Linked DNA regions of Homo sapiens: regions 2 and 3 are each linked to region 1. Evidence: promoter capture Hi-C in human tissues and cell types (Jung and others, 2019). All regions are on one chromosome and are shown on one strand. The core of a region is centred on a gene start or on the middle of the fragment in contact, and the rest is flanking DNA. Distances in the headings are between cores, read along the strand shown.

Evidence for each region. Contacts are between HindIII fragments. The study calls those that stand out against the background at their distance.
Region 2: a contact is called between the fragment with the promoter of SEMA6C here and a fragment that was not itself captured in region 1, in 1 of the 25 tissues and cell types used here (dorsolateral prefrontal cortex).
Region 3: the fragment with the promoter of MLLT11 here is called in contact with a fragment that was not itself captured in region 1 in 1 of the 25 tissues and cell types used here (dorsolateral prefrontal cortex).

What each region holds. Positions count from the first base shown.
Region 1 is chr1:150,372,816-150,377,754 of GRCh38, forward strand. All of the region lies in intron 1 of RPRD2 (regulation of nuclear pre-mRNA domain containing 2), which reads left to right. Among named protein-coding and RNA genes, the nearest start is that of RPRD2, 11 kb to the left of the region's middle. The HindIII fragment of the contact is 3,498 bases long and covers 724-4,221 here.
Region 2 is chr1:151,144,718-151,149,656 of GRCh38, forward strand. SEMA6C (semaphorin 6C) reads right to left here and starts at 1,914. Exons shown (of 19, transcript NM_030913.6): 1 at 1,716-1,914. It also overlaps a transcript of LYSMD1 not described here. RefSeq lists silencers at 1,662-2,121, 2,332-2,391. The HindIII fragment of the contact is 4,441 bases long and covers 413-4,853 here.
Region 3 is chr1:151,057,389-151,062,327 of GRCh38, forward strand. MLLT11 (MLLT11 transcription factor 7 cofactor) reads left to right here and starts at 3,009. Exons shown (of 2, transcript NM_006818.4): 1 at 3,009-3,165. It overlaps CDC42SE1 (CDC42 small effector 1), which reads right to left and starts at 2,234. Exons shown (of 5, transcript NM_020239.4): 1 at 2,091-2,234. RefSeq lists silencers at 572-631, 642-691 and an enhancer at 2,555-3,146. The HindIII fragment of the contact is 8,370 bases long and covers 1-4,581 here.

The sequences.
Region 1 (4,939 bases), core at 1,223-3,722:
GGAGCAGCAAGAAAGCTTCTGTGACTGGAAAGGAGTTGTTAAAATGAAGATTAGTGGATGAGTTCAAAGAGATTATGGTGGGTGGTGTTGGGGAGGGGTGAAATGGGATTCACCAAGGGTTTTATAGGCATTGTAAGGACTTTGGTTTTTATTCAGAGTGAGATGGTGAGCCATTTAAGCAAAAGGAGATGAACTCTTTTTTTTTCTTTTTTTTTTGAGACGGAATTTTGCTCTGTTGCTCAGGCTGGAGTGCAATGGCACCATCTCGGCTCACTGCAACCTCTGCCTCCCGGGTTCAAGCGATTCTCCTGTCTCAGCCTCCTGAGTAGCTGGGATTACAGGTGCATGCCACCATGCCCAGCTAATTTTTGTATTTTTAGTAGAGACAGGGTTTCATCATATTGGTCACGCTGGTCTCGAACTCCTGACCTCAAGTGATCCGCCCGCCTCAGCCTCCCAAAGTGCTGGGATTACAGGCGTGAGCCACCACGCCTGGCACTCGTTTGTTTTTAAAAGGTTATTCTTGTTTCTGCTGGAACAGGGATACCAATTAGATGGCTATTGTAATCCAGTGTAAAATATTGATGGCTTGGACCAGGTTATGGCCAGCGGAAGTGATAAGTAATTTAATTCTAGATCTATTTTGAAAGTAGGTCCAGCCAGATTTCTAGGTGGATTAAATGTGGGGTGAGAGAGGAGGAGAATAATCAAGAATGACTTTTTTTTTTTTTTTTTTTTTAGCTTGAGCAACTAGAAAGATAAGAGTTGACATTTATTGATATGGGGAAGGCTGTGAGTGGAGCAGATTTTGGGAAGAAGATGAGAAATTTAGTTTTGGATGTGTTAGGTTTGGGATGTCTATTTTAAGAAATCTTTTTTAAAGATATAATTCACAAAAAATATACTCATTTAAAGTGTACAATTCAATTGTTTTAGTATATTCATAGAGTTGTTCAGCAATCACCATAGCGTGTCTAGTATATGGATTGTTTTTAGAGCCAGGAAGCTGGAAGAGATCAACTAGAGAGAGAGTGTAGATAGGGAAGTAAGTCTAGTAAGATAGAGCAGCAAGTACAGATATAGAAGAGGTCCAGAGAGAAGGCTATGGTATTATGAAATCTCTATTTGGTCTCTGTCCCATTTCCTGGCATACTACTTCAAAAATCCTTGGGTCTTCAAGGTGATAAGTGTCATTTTGTATGCTAATGAGTTGACTGATGGTTGGCATCCCCTGGGTAGCCTAAGGATGGGGGCTGGTCACTGGAAAGAATAAGGCAGGACTAGAGGTTGTGACTTTCCGCCCTACCATCTAACCTCTGGGGAAGGGAGAAGAGCTGAAGGGGTAAACTGAACACCAGTGGCCAGTGGTTTAATTAATTATGCCTTCATAACGAAACTTCCATAAAAATCCAAAAGGACTGGTTTTGGGAAGCTTCTAGACAGCAAAACATATGGAGGTTCCTGGAGGTTGGCATGCCCAGAAAGAACCTAGAAGCTCTGCACTCTTAGCCCTACCTTGCCCCCTCCATCTCTTCATCTGGTGTTCATTGGTGTCCTTTGTTATGTCCTTTATAATTAACCAGTAAACGTGTTTCCCTGAGTTCTGTGAGCTGCTCAAGCAAATTAATGGAACCCAAGAAGGGGGTTGTGTGAGCCCCGATTTATGGTGGTTGGGTCAGAGCAAATGTTAACCTGAGATTTGTGATTGGCATGGGAAGTGGGGGGCAGTCTTGTGAGACTGAGCACTCAGTCTGTGGGATCTGATGCTCTCTTCCAGTGTCAGAATTGAATTGGAGGGCACCTAGCTGGTGTTCATTGCAGAATTGCTTGCTTGGTGTGTGTGGGGAGAACTCTCATACATTTGGTCAAAGAAGTCTTTGTTGATTGTTGAATGAGAATGTAGGAAAAGCACTTTTAAGTTTGTTTATTCTCTATTCTCAGAAGGCTGTTGGGGCATTCTAGTATTTTAGATGACTCTTTCTACTTAGTCTAGTGTGTTATTGGCTTAGGTTCTTTTTGAGGTTCAAGGTAAACTTTGTCTCAGCCCCCCAAAGAAGTAATAAATCTATTTTGGTCTCTTGCGTATTTTTACTCTTGGTTTACGCTTAATGGCATTTCTGTATTCATTGAGCAGGAGCTCTGTTATAATTGGTTATTATCCACCCTCTCCCTCCCCTTTAGATGCCTAAGTCACCTTTTTTTTTTTTCATTCCATTGCTCTAGGTTCATAGAGTTATAGGTGGTATTTTTCCAGGTTTCTGGCAATGTTTCGAAACATGGAACTGTCTTAATTATAAACTATAATTATTGTAATGGTATATATTAAGCCTTTTTGTCTGTATTGTGAGACTTTCCAAGCAGTTGTTATCTTCTTCCTTTTAGCTGCTTAGTCTCTTACAGCAGAAGGGTGATTTCATCCATGGCCTTAGGTGGGTTTGAAGCAATATGTAAAACATAATTTTACTATACCAAATTCCATAGTAAGCTAAAGAGTAAATTTTGTAGCAAATAAACATTCCCATAACTAAAAGTGTGAAACACTACTGACAAACTTCACATGGTTCTGTGACATGGAGGTATCTTGAAAGGAAAATTACAATAGCAGTGGAAAAACACTAATATTAAAATTTGCTCACAGAGGCCACCCAGAATTACTTTAATGTTAGTTTTGTCTGTAGAGGAGGGACGAGTGTATGTATGTGCGTAATTTTTTAGGGAGTAGAAGCTTACTGATTTTATTCTTTTTTGTTGTTATCAGCTTCCTTGGGTTGAATGATTTTACTCTTAATGATTTGGCTTCCTGCCTTTCTTAAACTAATAAATAATAGTTGCATCAAAATTCTTTCTTCCTCCTAGGCTTTTGTCAGTTATGTTCTCTTTTTTCCTCCCACTTTTTCCAGGTGTTTATTGTTTTACAGCAGTACTTTTAAAAGTCAAAAGGGGAGATTTTGGTCAGTTGTTTTAAAATTTCAATTGAGAATTAAGGATACATGAGGTTTAATTTGTTGAAGGAACTCAGAGACCCTAATAAAAATTACCCAAGAACAGAACAATTTACAAACCAGCTTGACTGACTTTCTCATCTATTTGTCAAGGAAACAAAAAGTAGTTGTGTTTCGTAGTGATTTCAAATTCCACTGCCCCCACAGATATTAATTATAGAACACTGGAGGAATGTACATCTTAGGGAGAAAGTAGTAGAACCTAGTTATTCCTTTTGAGAAAAGGCAACAATTCCATCTGTGCTTTGAAATATTAAAGCTTTTCTGGCTAAGATAAAGATAGTTTTTAAAAATGCTTCATTCTTATTCTCTTGTTTTTAGAGAAATATTGAAATAGAGGCTCTTTGATGAAGGAAATGAAAATGTTTGGTTTGCTGGGTTTAAATTTTACTAGTGTTTGATTGAGGCCTTGATCTCTCCCTCATCTCTCTTTCTTCACTTCTTTCTCTTATAATTAATTTCACTTACTTGCACTTTCTAGTTCTCTGGAATCCATTAGCAGAGAGAGAGAGTGATTCTTTATTACCCTTTAGTAAAAGTTGCACTGTGAAAGGAAAAAAGGATCTTTTAATGTTTGGGATTATAACTTAACATTTTTTGTTTTAAAAAACCTAGAATGGATCCTGAGCTGTTTTTGTGTTCCTTTACTGTCATCATAGTTTTAGAGTGTAGCATGATACAGTCTTTTTTTTTTTTTGAGACGGAATCTTGCTCTGTTTGTTGCCCAGGCTGGAGTGCAGTGGCGCCATCTCGGCTCACTGCAAGCTCCGCCTCCCGGGTTCACGCCATTCTCTCGCCTCAGCCTCCTGAGTAGCTGGGACTACAGGCGCCCGCCACCACGCCCGGCTGATTTTTTGTATTTTTAGTAGAGAAGGGGTTTCACCGTGTTAGCCAGGATGGTCTCGATCTCCTGACCTCGTGATCCGCCCGCCTTGGCCTCCCAAAGTGCTGGGATTACAGGCGTGAGCCACCGCGCCCGGCCGATACAGTCTTTTAAAATGATGATCTTTGTGTCTAGGAGGCAGTATTACTTGAAAGATTAAAATTCTCTTATAATATGTTATGCCTAAAGATACAGAATGAGAAAATGAACTTAGAAATACTGAGTGCTGGCCGGGCGCTGTGGCTCACGCCTGTAATCCCAGCACTTTGGGAGGCCAAGGTGGGGAGATCACCTGAGGTCAGGAGTTTGAGACCAGCCTGGCCAACATGGTGAAACCTTGTCTCTACTAAAAATACAAAAATTAGCTGAGCGTGGTGGCATGTGCCTGTAGTCTCAGCTACTCGGGAGGCTGAGGCAGGAGAATTGCTTGAACCCAGGAGGCAGCAGTTGCAGTGAGCTGAGATTACGCCACTACACTCCAGCCTGGTGACAGAGCGAGACTATCTCCAGAAAAAAAAAGAAAAAAAGAAAGGAAATATTGAGTACTTCCTCTATGTAAACCCCTGTATTGGGTGCTGAAAGAGATGGAATTATAAGGAACTTAACATTTAGTAAATGGGCCGGGCGCGGTGGCTCACGCCTGTAATCCCAGTACTTTGGGAGGCCGAGGCGGGCGGATCACGAGGTCAGGAGATTGAGACCATCCTGGCTGACGGTGAAACCCCGTCTCTACTAAAAATACAAAAAATTAGCCAGGCGTGGTGGCGGGCGCCTGTAGTCCCAGCTACTCGGGAGGCTGAGGCAGGAGGATGGTGTGAACCTGGGAGACAGAGCTGGCAGTGAGCCGAGATCGTACCACTGCACTCTAGCCTGGGCGACAGAGCAAGACTGCGTCTCAAAAAAAAAAAAAAAACATTTAGTAAGTAAGATAGGAATTGAACACATATAACTGGTTCTGGGAAGTATAATAATATGAGTTTTATATGCTCTAACAGTTTAGAATAGGTATCACTTTGGTTGGATTGCTGGATCCTTATTGTTTACTGAGGATCCT
Region 2 (4,939 bases), core at 664-3,163, 770 kb after region 1:
GGGCATGGCGACCACTCCCATGTTAAGGCCCTCAGAATCCAACAGCCTTCTTAGCAAAAGCGCCTTAGCTAGGGACAATAGAGGCTAATTTGCATCTCATTTACATGCTCTTCATTTCCAGGCAAAATGATCTGATAGCAAGCACCCTCAACCCTTTCCTTCCTCCCTGAGAGAGCAGGCTGTGCCTCCCTTCCACTCAGTCTACACACACACACACTCACACCCCACTTTAGGCTGGATTAGTCCAGCCTCTACAAACACTTGGCTGGCCTTTGCATTGGCCTTCTAGACTCAACTATGATACACCTTTAAGAGGGCTTCTTGTAGCTGTTTCTGGGAAGCAGCATCTGGTCAGCTCCTCAACTCCTGGCCTGGAGAAAAGATCACTCTGCCCTGGAAGAATCCGAGCTGCTTCACACACCCCATCTGAAGCACATGGGAGAGACCTGGCCGACTCTCCCCTTTCCAGATCCTCCCGTTGCTGGGAAGAGGAAACAGCCCTTCTCTCTCCTGGCCCCGAAGCCACCTCTGGGGAATGGCTGGGGTCACAGCCAGAGTCTAGGAGAGCTGTGGAAGGGATGGAGAAGGGGAGACTGGGCTGGGGACAATAGCAGGAAGCCTTTGGGCTGGTCGCCCGCCCCAGTCCACCTTCCTCAGAGGGAGCAGGGTCGCGCCAAGGAGCCTGTGGAACCGGAGCTTTCCTTTCTCCAAGCCATTTCCCCCACTCTTAGCTCTTAGCCCCACACTCAGCACCTACCCTCCTTCCCACCCAACCCCCAACCAGGACAATCCAGGTGTCTAAAGCCTCGAAAAGAGGTGGGCCTAGGGCCAGGGGCTCGACCTGTCTCCCCCTCACCGGATCCGGGGCTCCGAGGAGGGGCCGGTAGCAGAGTCTGGGCCGGGACCGGGTCCCAGAGCCACGTTAGCGAGAGGAGGGGCTGGAGGGGCCTGCAGGCGCAGACGAAGAGGGGATAGGAGCGGGGGTTGGGGAGCGGAGGCGGGTCTCCCAGGCCAGGGAAACAGGGCCAGAGGCTGAGAACCGACGAGGGCGGGCCTGAGGCCGGCGCTCAGTGGGGACCGTGGGCTCAGGAGGCAGTTGCCAGCTCGGATGTCCTCCTTGGGAGACCTCAGTCTAACAAAGCCCCGGGCCGAGCGGGCTGAAGGAAGGAGATAGGCGCTGGGACCGATGTTGCTCGAGGGCCCCATTCGCCGCCTCTTTGCACGAGCCAACCCTTCAGAGGGTGCTCAGATTCCGGCTTGCACAAGGACAGAGGAGCACCCGTGACACAAAGTCCGGAACGATGCGTCCCTCTTCCCATCCCTTCAGGGGCGTCAGGAGGGTCTAGTTCTCCGTGGGTCTCGGAGCCCTAGTTTCCTTGCTGGGAAAGCAAGGGGCCAGGTTTTCCACGCTCTCTACGGAGCGCGCCTCAAATAATCCCTTTTCGCGCTTCCCAGTCCAGCGGGATGCGACTCGACGAAAGCCCAATTGAACGAGGTGCCCAGACTCTGCTCTCACCAGTACAGTTACGGGGCTCGGCCACTGTCCCTCCTTCCTCCCTGCACCCCAATTTCGTTGACCCTCTCCGTCAGCCAGGCACACCGGGCGCCGACACCTCCCTGGTCCCCTAGCGCTTCAGAAGCTTGCCCCCCGCCGGCCGCGCCCTCCTGCTCCCTCCCCGCCTCCCCGCAGCCCCTTCCCTGCCCGGGGTACTTGCTCCAGGATTCGGGTCAGCGGGATCGAGATCGCCGCGGGCGGCCAGCGGCCACGCGCTGCGCTGAGTTCGCAATCCGTGGTTGTGCTCAGGCGAGATGCGATGAGCGTCCGAATTGGATGGTGCTTGAATTTGGGTTCCAGGGCGCTGTCGGGAGAGCCCTGGGTCCAAGTCCAGCCGCGGATCCGCGGAGGAAAACAATGCGACCGCCCGGGGCTCTGGGCTCGGCCCCAGTGGCCCCGCCCGCCTCCCAGCCGGGCCCACCTCCTGCCCGCCTTTGGGTCGCCGCGACTAATCCCGCCCTCGGAGGGCGGCTAGACACCGCCTTCTCGTCACCTCTCCGCCAATAGTGCTGCCCGGGGAGGGGCGCCAGGAGCACCGTCCACCCAGAGGGCCAGGCCGGGAGGCTGAACTGGAGACCAGAGACAGACGCGAGATGGAGAGACCCACGGACAGTCGCCGACACCGGGCAGAGGAAGAAATACATACAGAAGCAGAGACAGGCTGGCACAGGAGAGGCTCTGGGGAGAAATTTCCCAAGAGAGGAAGAGGAGCTGGGAGGAGAAACAGACAGGAAACCTGGGAGCCTCGCGGGGCTGGGCTGGGCTGTCAGAGCCTGCGCGATCCGTCCTCCCTTCCCCTCCTATACGGCTTGGGCGACCTTGCTCCCGAGGGCGCATCCCGCATCTCCCTGACTCTGCCCCCAACTCTCTGTTGCTCCTCTCTATGCGTTGTCCCTCTGTCTCCTTATTTCTCCCCGTAGGCCTCCTCTGGTTCGTCCTGACCCGGATAAGGAGGCCTAGCATGCGCGTGGGGGCTGGAGGCCTGGGAAAGGAAAGGAAGGTGTCAGCAGGAGGTTTCCCTTGTTTCCATGATCTCCTCCCCTCCCACCTCTACAAAGCAGCATGAGTTTGGGCCACTATGGCAAGAACTAGCTAGCAGTCAGGCTGTTGGGTAATGGAAGAGGGCAGGTGAGAGAGGCTGAAGCCAAAACAGATGTGGAAATCAAGACTAACTGACTCAGAGAAAGGCACAAAGAGTAGCAACGCTAAGACTTGATAAAGTAACCCACACAGCCTTCCTGCCCCACAGACATACGTCCCACCTTTCCTCAGAGGACCGTGACATCCCTCCAAACAGCAAAACTGCCCCTTCTCCCTCCCCACCCTTCATAAAGCCCCTGGGAATGTCAGTGAGGAGGAAGAATAAACTACTACAGACAGGATTGCTTGGTACCTTGGTATTGCCTGGTAGGATTCTTCTCTATGTGGGGCTGGGACAAAAGACATTCTCAAAATTCTCCAGGAAAGTGGGTGGCCTGGGAGACACTGGCATTCTCAGATAGTTTTATCTGACTGAACACTTCTACCCACATCTTGGACTCTGGACTAGAGGAAAGGAGGGGGAAGGGGTTTGCCACTTTAGGCCAGCCTTAACTGGACTGTGATCAGGGAGGGGAGTATCAACAACTAGGCTAAGCCCCACAGCGAGTACACAAGAGACCTAAACATACACACACATGTGCACACGCACATACAGAGAAAGAGAGAGACAGAGAGACAGATTTAAGGCCAGGTGAACCAGTAAGATGAACAGTAACTCAGTAAAGTCAGATCTAAAAAAAATAGAAGAAGATAAACAGGGACAATATCTACACAGAATTAACGGCCGAGGGATCTTGGGTCCAAGGCAATTCAACAAACTGTCAGACAGTTGGGGTTGTTTTAAAGGCTGGAAAGAAATTTTCAGAGAAAGACACCTCAAAATACAGAGGCACTGAGAGGTTAAAAGAAATCTCCTCAGCTCCTAGCACAGGGTTTAGGTACTCAGATACATGCTTATGGAATAGATTAGTGAGTGGGGATTAAGGTGTAATTCATTTAAAGTTTTAGGACCCAGCTCAAATCTCAGTTCAATCCAGTAAGTATTAAACACTTACTTGAGACACAATCTACTACACAATCCACTGTGGGTTGTGGTTCCAGACTTTAAGAAAATGATAATATATTTGAATTAAAATAAGATTTGCACATACTAAACTATTAAAAAGTCTAAACTATTAAAAAGACAGTACTAAATATTAAATATTTAATAGTACTAAACTATTAAAAAGACAACACCAAGTCTCAAAAGAAAAGCTACATTGAACATAAATTTCCAAATGTGCAAAGAAGACAATAAATATTCTCCGAAGACTGCACAGAAAGATGCTGGATACATTTTATCATGAAGGACAGGAAAACTTTGGTGGGAGTTGGCTTGGTGCAAAAGAAGAAAATGTTCCCGAGGGACACAGCTTCAGCAAAAGCTTTTACTTGGTTAGCAAGGAGCCTGCAGCATGGATAAAAAAAAGGTCCTGTGAGGCTGGTGTGTGGGAAAGGCACTAGTTAGGAGCAAGGGGAGGGAAAAGGGGAAGACAAATTACAGAAGGCCTGGAATGACTAGGTGAGCTGGTTAAAATCATCTGACAGGAGTAGGACGTCATTTTAAATTCTTGAAAAAGGGTGCAACTTGTATTTTTTTATTTTTTTAAGCAAGAAGACAGAGACCTACTAGCAAGTAAACAAGGTTTAAAGGTGAGGGGAGAGGGACAATCAGACAAGGGTGATGGGAACAGATTTAGAAAGAAATACATGAATCTGAGAGCTATTTTGAAGGACAAATCAAAATGACTCTCTTGGCTGGGCGAGGTGGCTCACCCCTGTAATCCCAGCACTTTGGGAGGCCGAAGTGGGCAGATCACCTGAGGTCAGGAGTTCTGAGACCAGCCTGGCCAACATGGAGAAACTCCAGCTCTGCTAAAAATACAAAAAAAAATTAGCCGGGTGTGGTGATGGGCACCTGCAATCCCAGCTACTCAGGAGGCTGAGGCAGGGGAATTGCTTGAACTCAGGTGACAGGAGATTGCAGTGAGCCAAGATCGTGCCACTGCACTCCAGCCTGGGTGACACAGAGGGAGACTCTTAAAAAAATAAAAATAAAAATAAAAAACCTCTCTTCCTACTCCCTTAGTGTTTTGAAGAAAATCACACAGTCCTGGCCGGGCGCAGTGACTCAGGCCTGTAATCCTAGCACTTTGGGAGGCTGAGGCGGGTGGATTGCCTGAGCTCAGGAGTTCGAGACCAGCCTGGGCAACAACAGTGAAACCCCGTCTCTACTAAAATAAAAAGAATTAGCCGGGCGTGGCGGTGTGCGCCTGTAGTCCCAACTACTGGGGAGGCTGAGGC
Region 3 (4,939 bases), core at 1,759-4,258, 690 kb after region 1:
GGCGGATGCCTGTAATCCCAGCTACTTGGGAGGCTGAGGCAGGAGAATCGCTTGAACCGGAGATTGCAGTGAGCCGAGATCGCCACTGCACTCCAGCCTGGGCAACAAGAGCGAAACTCCGCCTCAAAAAAAACACACACAAAAAAACGAGATAGCAGGGTGTGGTAGCATGTGCCTGTCATCCCAGCTACTGGGGAGGCTGAGGCAGGAGGATCACTTGAGCCCAAGAGTTGCGGCTACAGTGAGCCATGTTTGCACCCCTGCACTCCAGCCTGGGTGACAGGACAAGACCCTGTCTCAAATACAAAACACACACACACACACACACACACACACACACACACACACACAGAGGTTTTTTTTTTTTTTAACAGCCTTGAGATGAGATCACACAAACACTCAAATGTAGCTTCTAGGGGAGGGGAGAACCCAGGAGGCTGGGCTTTCTCTTCTCTTCTCACCACTGGAAGGGAGGAGTAACCAGAAGGAGCGGAAGCTAAAACACGCTGTCCAGAGAGGGGAGCTGTGGTCAGTGGGACGTCAGTGAGTCAGTCATAGGGTTTGTCCTGATGGTGGTGGTGGCAGGTGGTAAGGGTTGGGGAAAAATGAAGAATTAGAGGAAACCCCCAACACCAGCAGGCAGGCTGTACTGTGACTGGACTCTCCCTCAACATCCCCCACTCTGCTCAAAGCTGAGGGACAGAGGTGGATAGTGCTGGGAGGGAAGAGAAGAGAGGGGGAGGAGAAGGAGAGAGGGAAAGGGGCAGTGGAGAGAACAAGGCCATTTCTGTTTCTTTTCCAGGGACCTGACCAGAGCTGGGTGGAGGGAAAGCGTGTGTGTGGGACTTGGCATGAAATGACCAATGATGACGAGAAGTGACCAGGAAATTCCATTCCCTAGGACATTAGGGTCTCTGAAACTTGAGGGTGGGGTCAGAGTGTGAAGAAGACAGGTCAGGGTGAATGTGATGGTAGCGCAGGGCAGTGGGGGATGGGAACAAAGCCAGAAAAGGAAGTAAGAGCCACTGGCGGCCACTCTTCTTTAAAGCAGCCAGAAGAGAGTGGGTTGAGGAAAAATGAAGTCCTGAGCTGGTCAGCCCAGGCGGAAGAGCCACCCGAATCCAACCCCACAGTGAATAGGGAAGGGGCTGAGAAAACAACAGGAGGGATGAGGATTAGACCTCATAAGGCCACGTCCTGAGAGCCAAGTGGTGCTCAGAACTCGACCTCTCTGAGTTCCAAATGGCAAGAGTGAAATATGGAACCGGGAAAGCCACCCCCCGCCCCCACCAAGATCATACTAGGACTTGAGGGTCTCAGAGCTGTTGGGAGGTGAGCAGAAGGGATGGGAAAGAGGTGCCAGGGAGGAAGGATGTACAGGCTAGTTCTCTGGTCCTGTTCGGGCCCCAAACCGGTTCTCCCGGTCCCACCGCCTCTGGCCCTAAGGCCTCCAACCCGCGGCCTGACAAGCCCTCACATGAAGCAGCTGGAGAGAAAGAAAGAATCGAGAGAATGGCATGGGCAATTCTGGCTAGAAGCCCGGGGCAGCAGCTGGTCCCTGTGTGGAGACCCCGAGACATGGAGGGCTGCTGAGGGACTCTGGAGAAGCGGTGTGGACTCCATATTTCAGCCAAGTGACAGGCCCAACACCAACCTTCCCTTCCCCAGGAAAGGTCTTCTGGGGGCTTAAGAGGAAAGAGGGCTAGGCCCTAAGCCTCCCCTCCCCAAATATATTCAATCACACAGATTCCGTATCTGTCTCCCCCCACTACACAACTCTACCTAGAAGTTCTCTGCTGTTCTCAACCCTTAACCGGACTGGGACCTCTCTGGGAATCTTTCGGACCCTCTCCCTCCCACCTCCCCCAACATTCCAGTTCCTTCTTTTCCTTCTACTCTTCAGCGGCCTCAGCCTGCGCACCCCAGGAGCGTGGATGACTACGGCCACCCCGGGCGCGCACCCCTTTCCCACCACCCCAGCATCTCTGCAGCCCAGGACACCCGCCTCCCCCACACCCCGCATCCGGTGTGTCTCCGCCTGGCCCGGCCGGCGCGGCAGGCGGGCCAGGGGACCAACTGCACGGCCTCACCTGCTCTTCTCCACCATCCAGACGTTCAGCTACAGCTGGTGGGGGTGAGGGACTCTGCTCCGTGGCCGCCAGTGTGGGCTTCCCGGGCTAGCTCTGCGGCGAGGTGGGGGAGCCGAGTACGAGCCGGCAGAGGTGGGGCCGGCTGAGGGCGGAAGCGGCGGCGACGCGATTACGAAACCCGTCCGGCTCGGAGCCCGGCGCACTGCTCCCCTCTGGACTGCGGAGGCACTGCACTGCGCGGGACGTGGGAGGGTGCCTCTGCAGCCCCTCAAGGCCGCCGCCCCTGCGGGGAGAACTGGAGAATGCGGACACCTAGATGAGGCCCTGGCACCCAAGCTGGGGCCCCCGGAATCTCACGTTCCCTTTACTCGCCAGGCATTTCGGGGCAAAACGAAGCGGAGCCCCCCAAACCCCCAGACCTAACCAAGTTCAGAGATTCGCAGAAGCACGCCCCCCACCCCAAATTTATTGTGCTCTACCCAAAATGGAATAGGACTAGGTTTATTTACCCATTGTGAGGGTAGAGAGGCGAGTCTGGAGGAGCAGGGATTGGGAGAAGGGGTGGAAAAATACTCTGATTCTTAAAAATACTTTGTAACCTAAAGTCCTTAAATTGTGGAAGAAAGGAATACTCCTCCTTTCCATTGTAGTCTAGAGTTAAGATTTCAAATCCATAAATTAGAGGACCTAAAATTAGAGGGCAATTAACTGCTCATTCATTGGGCCCCCAGTCAGCACGGGGGTGCTGGAAGAGATCGGGAATAATAGCGCAGACCAATGAGCCTAGGGAGATGCTTTCATCGTCTCTCCTTCCCTCAAGTGTTCTGGAACCTATCATTTGAATTAGCCGAGTCAGGCAGGAGGGGGCGGGGAATCCTTCCGCCCTTCTTAGGAGGGGCTGCATTGCAGGGGGAGAGTGAACTGACAGACTCAGTCACTGAAGAGGGAAAAGGAGTGAGAAGACAAAGCCGTCAAAGCCCCAACAGCTTTGTATTTCTCCAGCCCGGCGCAGACCCCGGAGCTCCCGAGGCACTCCCTCCATCTTTGGAACACGCCAGTAATTGATTGATAACAGGTAAACCAAACTGAGGGAGGGGGCAGGGGGCTGCAAAGATAGAAGAGCGGCTGCTTATGGTTAGATTGAAAGACCCCACATGAGGTGGGGGACAGCTGAAGAGGAGAGAAGGGGGCGCTATGAACAATGGGTAGTTATTTCTTCACAGCATCCATGCCTTGTTACCTTATACAGACCATTAATCTCTAACAATTTACTTGTAGTTATTTCTCAGCACCTACCTCATTTCAAGTATCCTTTTCTGTAATTTATTGTCCTGTGTATTTAATATCTTCAGTCTACTTATCTTCCTTTTCAAACCATAATTTGTTTTACCAGCTGTTTAATTTTTAGTCCTACTGTATCTCTCTGTCCTCTACTTCCCTATACTTGCAATTTTTTTCTGTAGTGTTCTATGTTTCTCTGTAGGAGGGAGTTTGGGAGGGGGTTATATGGGATAATGTTGGGTGTAATCCTGACCTTTCTTTGGATAATCTCTTTCATTCCACCTCGAATCTTTGCTCCAAAGAAAGAGGCAGCCTAGGGTAGGAAAGGTGGGGGCCTCTGTGTTGGAGAACTGCCTGATTCCATAGTGAAATCAGTATAGCCCACAGGAGCTAGGTATGGGGACAGATTCTGGAAAAGAATGATTTGCAGCTCAGTGGAATTGGTGGAGGAATGCTAGTAGGAAAATCCAAGCTCTGACTGAGGCACACATTATGAGATGTCAGAGAGGTTCTGCTCCCCTCTACCACCACCACCACCTTGTCCTTCCCCCTTCCCCATGGTGGCAGCATGACACAGCAAGGCCCTGTTGAGTAGGCCTTGGATGCCCACAAAGGGTCTGGACAAAGGATATTTGGGCGTGTCTGTGTGGCTCCGAGAGTGTATCTTTCTAATCTATACATTTGCTAATCATGTATCTCTAAGAACAGAGTGATAATTAGATATTGCCTTTGCCTAAAATACCCGGATAATTTAAAGTGAAGGATAGTGGGAAGCATTTATTGAACATATATTGTGGTACAAGGCACTGTCAAAACCCTTTAAGTAAATGATACCATTTAAGATAATGAAAGATGTAAAGATAGATGAAGTAGGGCTGGAGAGCATTTGTGGAGGGGAAGGGGAAGCTAGCCAAAAAAGGATCTTTTGCGAAATTTGGAGTATTTGATAATTAAATCCATACTATATTAAATCAAAAATGTCATTACTACTTACATTAGTGAATAGCATTTTAACTTCAATTTTCTGTGTAGTATTACTTTATGTTCTTGACTTGATTTTAATGCCACGTATGTTTGCATGCATGTCTTTCTTGAATGTATTTGGTACCCTGTGTACATGTCTCTGGGTCAATGACATAGAGATTTTAGGCCTTTTGAGTTAATATTTCATAAAATTTGCTTTAGCTTTTTAAATTGCAAGATAGCTCTACCAAACACTCAGGGACTGTTTGAGCAGTTTTTTATACATACTCTGGTTGTAAGAAAAGGAGTCAGTTTGTCGAAGAGCTTTTTTTTTTTTCTCAGATTCTAGCTTGCTCTACTGCCCTTTGCTTTTCCCCATTCAGATCACAATTACAGGAACAATCACCTAAACCACGGAAAATCTATTCTTCAGCAACTAAAAATTCTTTTAAGTTTTGGGAATACTGGTATAGGGTTATATAAAGCTGTTGGCAACTATCCATGTACAACACAAAAAGGGATCAGATTGGGAATTATGAGATCTGGATTCTATACAAACTGGCTGGAAGTCTTCCCAAGTCATTAATTTCTAAGATGTCTTCTAG